2 separate regions of the Homo sapiens genome follow, and region 1 is linked to region 2. Evidence: promoter capture Hi-C in 16 types of primary human blood cells and fetal thymus (Javierre and others, 2016). All regions are on one chromosome and are shown on one strand. The core of a region is centred on a gene start or on the middle of the fragment in contact, and the rest is flanking DNA. Distances in the headings are between cores, read along the strand shown.

The links. Contacts are between HindIII fragments. The CHiCAGO score rates a contact against its expected background, and 5 or more counts as called.
Region 1: a contact is called between the fragment with the promoter of PHACTR4 here and the fragment with the promoter of ATP5IF1 in region 2, in 1 of 17 cell types (M1 macrophages). The highest score is 5.2, in M1 macrophages.

What each region holds. Positions count from the first base shown.
Region 1 is chr1:28,367,596-28,370,990 of GRCh38, forward strand. PHACTR4 (phosphatase and actin regulator 4) reads left to right here and starts at 2,145. Exons shown (of 14, transcript NM_001048183.3): 1 at 2,145-2,230. RefSeq lists enhancers at 1,317-2,272, 1,923-2,217 and a silencer at 2,299-2,518. The HindIII fragment of the contact is 7,867 bases long and covers 1-3,395 here.
Region 2 is chr1:28,234,237-28,237,662 of GRCh38, forward strand. ATP5IF1 (ATP synthase inhibitory factor subunit 1) reads left to right here and starts at 1,888. Exons shown (of 3, transcript NM_016311.5): 1 at 1,888-2,034; 2 at 2,125-2,216. The coding sequence starts at 1,948. RefSeq lists enhancers at 787-1,293, 2,087-2,146 and a silencer at 1,126-1,350. The HindIII fragment of the contact is 3,687 bases long and covers 377-3,426 here.

The DNA.
Region 1 (3,395 bases), core at 895-3,394, 130 kb after region 2:
GCCTTCCAGAGTGCTGGAATTACAGGCATGAGTTATCATGTGTAGCCTATTAATTTAAAAAAATATATTTTTTAATTTTATTTTTGAGACTGAGTTTCCCTCTTGTAACCCAGGCTGGAGTGCAATGGTGCGATCTCGGCTCCCTGAAACCTCCGCCTCCTGGGTTCAAGCGCTTCTCCTGCCTCACCCTCCTGAGTAGCTGGGATTACAGGGGTGGGCCATCACGCCCAATAAATTTTTGTATTTTTTTTTTTTAAGACGGGATCTCGCTCTGTTGCCCAGGCTGGAGTGCAGTGGCGCGATCTCAGATCACTGCAAGCTCTGCCTCCCGGGTTCACGCCATTCTCCTGCCTCAGCCTCCCGAGTTGCTGGGACTACACGCGCCCTCCACCACGCCCGGCTAATTTTTTGTATTTTTAGTAGAGACAGGGTTTCATTGCGTTAGCCAGGATGGTCTCGATATCCTGACCTCGTGACCCGCCCGCCTCAGCCTCCCAAAGTGCTGGGATTACAAGTGTGAGCCACCGTGCCCGGCCAATTTTTGTATTTTTAGTAGAGATGTGGTTTCACCATTTTGGAGAGGCTGGTCTCGAACTCCTGACCTCAGGTGATCTACCAGCCTCAACCTCACAAAGTGCTGGGATTACAGGCGTGAGCCACCGTGCCAGGCCAATAAATATATTTTAAATATTTTTTTGAGACAAGGTCTCCCTCTGTCGTCCAGGCTGGAGTGTAGCGACACCATCACAGCTCATTGCAGCCTGGACCTCCCCAGCTCAAATAATCCTCCTATTTCAGCCTCCTGAGTACCTGGGACTACAGGCACGTTCCATCATGCCCAGCTAATTTTTAAAATTGTTTTTGTAGAGATGGGGCCTCACTCTGTTGCCCAGGCTGGCAGGCTGGTCTCAAACTCCAGGGCTCAAGGGATCCTCCCGCCTTAGCCTCCCAAAGTGCTGGGATGAGAGGTGTGAGCCACTGCACCCGGCCAATTTTTTTTTCTTCTTTTTTCTTTTTCTATTGAGACAGGGTCTTGCTCTGCTGCCCAGGCTGGAGTGCACTGGTGCGATCTCGACCCCCCAGGCTCAAGTGATCATCTCACCTCAGCCTCCCACGTAGCTGGGACTACAGGAGCTTGGCACTAGGCCCCGGATAATTTGTTTGTTTGTTTGTTTGTTTGTTTTGCGACGGAGTCTTGCTCTGTCGCCCAGGCTGGACTGCAATGGCAAGATCTCGGCTCACTGCAACCTCCGCCTCCTGGGTTCAAGCGATTCTCCTGCCTCAGCCTCCTGAGTAGCTGGGATTACAGGCATGCGCCACCGCGCCTGGCCAATTTTTTTAATTTTATGGATAGTGTATTTGAAAAGTCACATCGATTTTTCTCCTGGAATGTCCTCTAGATGTGCCGTAGCTTCAAGTTTTACATGTAGGTCTAATTTAGGTTGTGTGATACAATGGGTTTGCATTTAGAAGGGTCCTCTGGCAGCAGCAAGGAAGGTTTTCGGAGGGTGATAGCCTAGGGCCTGAAACTACTGAGACTTGGAGAGAAGTGATGGTGGCTTTCACTAGGTGATAGTAGTGAAGGATATCGAAATGAATTAAAATACTGGGGATGTAGAATGACTGGACTTAATGGCTTGAGGGAAGTGTCCAGAATGATTCCTGGGTTTCTTACGCACAACACTGAGGGTAGATAACTTGCTTGTACGTTTTTTGCACTTCAAATTGGTCCTCAATAAATAGTTTTTCCTTTGGGGAGGTTATGATTGAAATTTGGCCAGTCAGGGATACAGTTTTCTCAAACAACACTCTTGTATCAGTTCCCTTTTTGGGTACTGCCTGGAGCCCAGTATTGAACCCTGTCCTCCCAAGCCCAAAGACCTTTGCCTCCCATAGTACCAGGAAAGGTGCCCAAGTTCTTTTACACACAAGGTGCGCAGAGCGGCCAGCGCATGCCCAGAGAGGTCGTAAGGAGGACGACCGCCCGGAGAGAAAGGACGCACGCTTCCCGCCATTTTGTTCAGCTTGCCGGGCAACCGGCCCCTGCTGGGGACTACAAGTCCCGTAAGCCTCCGCGGCGGCACGTCCTACCCTACACTGTCCAGCCGGCTCCCTTTTTCCCCCTCCCCGGGGGCCAAGGGCTCCGGCTGCTGCCTGGCGGCCAACGGGCCAGGTAGGATTTCCGGGAGAGGCTGCTGTGGAGGCTGAGGAGGCGGCGGCGGAGATCTGGGTAAGTTCAGCGAGCAAGGGAAAGTGAGCAGGACGCGCTCAGTATCAGGCTGCGGCCTCCTCTCAGGCTGCGGCCCCTTTCTTGGCTCTGCGAGAGGGTCCCGGTCCGGGCAGAAGGTAACGGCCCGGGTCGCCGTCGCTTCGGGCCAGGGCGGGGCGGGGCCGCCGCCTCCCTCCTCGGCCCTCCCACAACGGTCCAACCCGGGCTTCTCCGCCTGAGGCAGGGCCCGCGCAGGCTCGCCCTCTCCGCCCCCCGAGACTTGGCTGGGCCCTTTTGTCTGGGCTGCGTTGCTCCCCCTTTGTGTCCGTGCATGGAGTCTCCGCCACGGGGGAGCCTGTTCCCCCGGTCCCCAACAGGGACTGCTCCCTGGGGATCCGGTTACAGTAACCGGATCGGGTCAAAGTACATTTTTCAAAACCGTCCTGCCTCAGACCTCTGCACCCCTGCTGGGCAGAACGGGGGCTTCGGAGCCAGGCGGAGTTTCTGTAAAAACCTGGAGGTTATTATTTAACTTTCAAACATCAGCCTGGGCGGCTTCAGGGCACGAAACTCCCGACGTTTTTCTTGGTGGAGAGATGAGATTAAGGAAAAGAAGCGACCCCTCTCTCCCACCCTCTACACCCCGGCTCCGGGAAACCGGGAAGGCATCGAATTTGCTGCGATGTCTGTGCAGCTCACATCTGTGATCGGTGGACCAAAGAACCAGTGGTGAATGGTAGAATGGCAGTTCACGCACCTCCCAAATCTCGGAGGAGAGTGACTTACAGGGCATCACTGATTGCTTGCAAAAAAAAAAAACCCTCCAGTGCTTCATTCGGACACTCAGCTCCTCGCTCCTTCCAACCTCTTCCTTTTCTTGTTCTTTTTAAAACAAACAGTGGAAGGAAAAAGTCCTTCAGTGGAAGAATTTGCTTTATAGAGGAACCAGAAACCCAGTGGCTTCTAGAAGTCACTTACTTTTTCGCCAAATTAAAGAAATGAATTTCGGGCGTGGTGGCGCGCGCCTGTAATGCCAACTATTCTGGAGGCTGAGGCAGGAGAATCGCTTGAGGCCAGAAGTTCGCGACCAGCCTGGGCAACACAGCAAGACCCCATCTTAAAAAAAAAAGGAATGAAGCCCGTTTAGAAATGAAGCCAGTTTAGGGGATGAGGTGTGGTAGATTCT
Region 2 (3,426 bases), core at 638-3,137:
CCAGGTTCAAGCAATTCTCCTGCCTCAACCTCCTGAGTAGCTGAGATTACAGGCGCATGTCACCACGCCCGGCTGATTTTTGTATTTTTAGTAGAGACGGAGTTAGTCAGGCTGATCTCGAACTCCTGACCTCATGATCCATGCGCCTCGGCCTCCCGAAGTGCTGGGATTACAGGTGTGAGACACCACGCCCAGCCCCAAAGAAGGTATTTTTATAATCATCAATCAGGTAGATAATCTGGCCCAATTCTCTCATCTAAAAAAGAAGAAACAGAGAAGAGAAAATGAGTTAGAGAAGAGCTATAAACTTCATGAGAGTAAAGACTACTGTTGTCTTGTTCACATTCATTAGATGGATGAAGGGAGGTTAAGGTCAAGCTTTCCCTAGACTCCTACTTATCCTTTTTTTTTTTTTTTTTTTTTTTTTTTGAGACAGAGTTTCGCTCTTGTTACCCAGGCCGCAGTGCAATGGCGTGATCTCAGCTCACCGCAACCTCAGCCTCCCGGGTTCAAGCATTCTCCTGCCTCAGCCTCCCAAGTAGCTGGGATTACAGGCATGTGCCACCACGCCTAGCTAATTTATTTTTTATTTTTATTTATTTATTTTTGAGACAGTTTCTCTCTTGTTGACCAGGCTGGAGTGCAATGGCGTGATCTCAGCTCACTGCACCCCCTGCCTCTCAGGTTCAAGCGATTCTCCTGCCTCAGCCTCCCGAGTAGCTGGGATTACAGATATGCGCCACCATGCCCAGCTAATTTTTCATATTTTTTTTTTAGTAGAGATGGGGTTTCTCCATGTTGGTCAAGCTGGTCTCGAATTCCCAACCTCAGGTGATCTGCCCGCCTCGGCCTCCCAAAGTGCTGGGATTACAGGTGTGAGCCACCGCGCCTGGCCTGCTCTTTTCTACTGCATTGCACCACATTGCCAAAAGTGCAGTTATTAAGCCCATTCAACAATATGTTGCTAACGAAAAAAACAAACTAAAATATTTTTAAAAGGTTTATTCTGAGCCAAGATGAGTGACCATAGCTTGGGGAAACACAGCCTCAAGAGGTCCTAGGAAACTGTGCCTGAGGTGGTCAAGTTATAATTTGGGTTTTCTTTTTTTTTTTTTTGTTTTGAGACGGAGTCTCGCTTTGTCACCAGGCTGGAGTGCAGTTGCGCAATCTCGGCTCACTGCAACCTCCGCCTCCCGGGTTCAAGCCAATTCTCCTGTCTCAGCCTCCTGAGTAGCTGCGATTACAGTCGCGTGCCACCGCACCCGGCTGATTTTTGTATTTTTAGTAGAGACGGGGTTTCCCCATGTTGGCCAGGCTGGTCTCGAACTCCGGACCTCAGGTGATCCACCCACTTCGGCCTCCCAAAGTGTTGGGATTACAGGCGTGAGCCACCGCGCCCAGCCAGAACACTGACACTTCTCATAACAAATGAACGCGATTTATGTATATCTAAGCCAGGGCACATTGGACGTCGGTATCCTGGACATCAGCATCCTGGACACAGCTCCCAAACCCCGAATTCCCCCATTTTATTGATGCTAGCAGGCCAGGGAAGGGAAAACTTCCTTTGGGCTTTGAATAATAACGACTTTAGAATTGAAATCGTGGGCTGGAGGTGGACGCCACGCCTCATTCTGATGGGTCCAAGAGCCGAAATTTCGGCTTCTGGCACTCTCCTCACTCAGCTCTCTAAACTCCTCCATCATTCCTCTTTCCAGTCCTTTGGCCCTAAGCCCTTGCTAGCGGTTGGCTAAGAAGAAACCCGTCTCTTGCTCGGGATTCGCTGTGAGCTCCGGGAAGCCCGCCTCCGCTCTCCCGTGATTCGCTACTCCTGTGTTCATCCGCCCCTCCGTCGACCAGATTGGGTGCTTGGCCGTCCCTGCCATTAGCGCGTAACGAGAGACTGCTTGCTGCGGCAGAGACGCCAGAGGTGCAGCTCCAGCAGCAATGGCAGTGACGGCGTTGGCGGCGCGGACGTGGCTTGGCGTGTGGGGCGTGAGGACCATGCAAGCCCGAGGCTTCGGCTCGGATCAGGTACGCTGCGGCAGTGTCCGCTGCTCCAGCCCCGCGGGCGGATCCCATCTTTGCTTCCGTACCTTTACCAGTGTCCCTGTCTCTCTGCAGTCCGAGAATGTCGACCGGGGCGCGGGCTCCATCCGGGAAGCCGGTGGGGCCTTCGGAAAGAGAGAGCAGGCTGAAGAGGAACGATATTTCCGGTGAGGCTCACCGGGTCCCAAGTCCAGCCCTGGATCTCCCAATGGCCTTCCAATCCTTAAACTGCCAATCGCCCCACCCGTTCCTACCTGGTGCCTTGGGCGCCCCATCCCCCAACAGAACTCCCGGGCCCCAATCCAGTATACCCTAACCCTTGATGTCCCGACCGTTGCCACGTATAGGGCACTCCCAGTTACCTGCACAACAGTTTCAGGCCCCCAAACCGTTTCCACCGGCGGGTCTCCAAAACAACCCACGGCTCAACTCCTCCTTTATCATTACCATCTCCCGCGTGGAGTTCTCCTCAGGTCGTGCGAAACACCCCCAGATTCTTCGCACAGTGTCTAGATCCGACCGCCCAACGTTTGCCTCCCAGCCTGACTCCCTCGGCCCTTACCCACCTGTCACCCCCTCTACGCTCTCCTTCCTCGCCAGCACGCCTTAGCTTTGCAAGCCTGCATGCATTCAGGCTTCTCAGGTGTTTCTAGACCCCCGACTCCGCAAGAGTGAGGATGATGGGAGCTGGTCATGGGAGCTACTTATGGTTGGACACCATCTTCTAAAGGCTTTTGCCCTACTCAGCCCAACCTAGACCTGTAGATTTCCCTCTCCTGCTTAGGAGTATGGAGTGGGCTGGGCCTCCCTTTGCCAGCCTTGAGTTATCTTTAACTGACTTCTGTCCACTCTGGAGAGCAGTGAGGAATTAATCTTGCTTTTGCTTGTCCTTTGGCCTTTCACTTCTGCCTTCTGTTGAGAATTATCACCATGACACCTGCCATACCGTATAGAGAGCCAAGGTACAGCCGTTAGAGACTATCTAATTGAGCCCCTACATTTTGTAGTTAAGGAAAACTGAGGCCTAAATGTGACCAAACCAACATTGTAATCCAGTCCCTTCTTGGAACCTAAATTGAACTGCCAAGTACTGCGCATGCAAGAGACCCTTTATTGGCCTTACAGTGGGCCATTCATTTCTATAGGCAAAGAAAGCTCTAGACAGATTGGAATAGGAAATGGATATTTGCCTTTTAGCTACACCCCTTTGTCTGTCTTCCTCATTTTGTTCCTTTTTTTTTCCCTAAAGGGGAGTCAAGTTCCCTGGGTTGTTCCCCTCATAAGGTATTAGGGACTTGTGTCACATCTCTCTGGAGTTTTCTATTTTAAAGAGGAATCTGAAAGCAATAAGCTCTTTGGTCTTCTTAAGATGGCTAC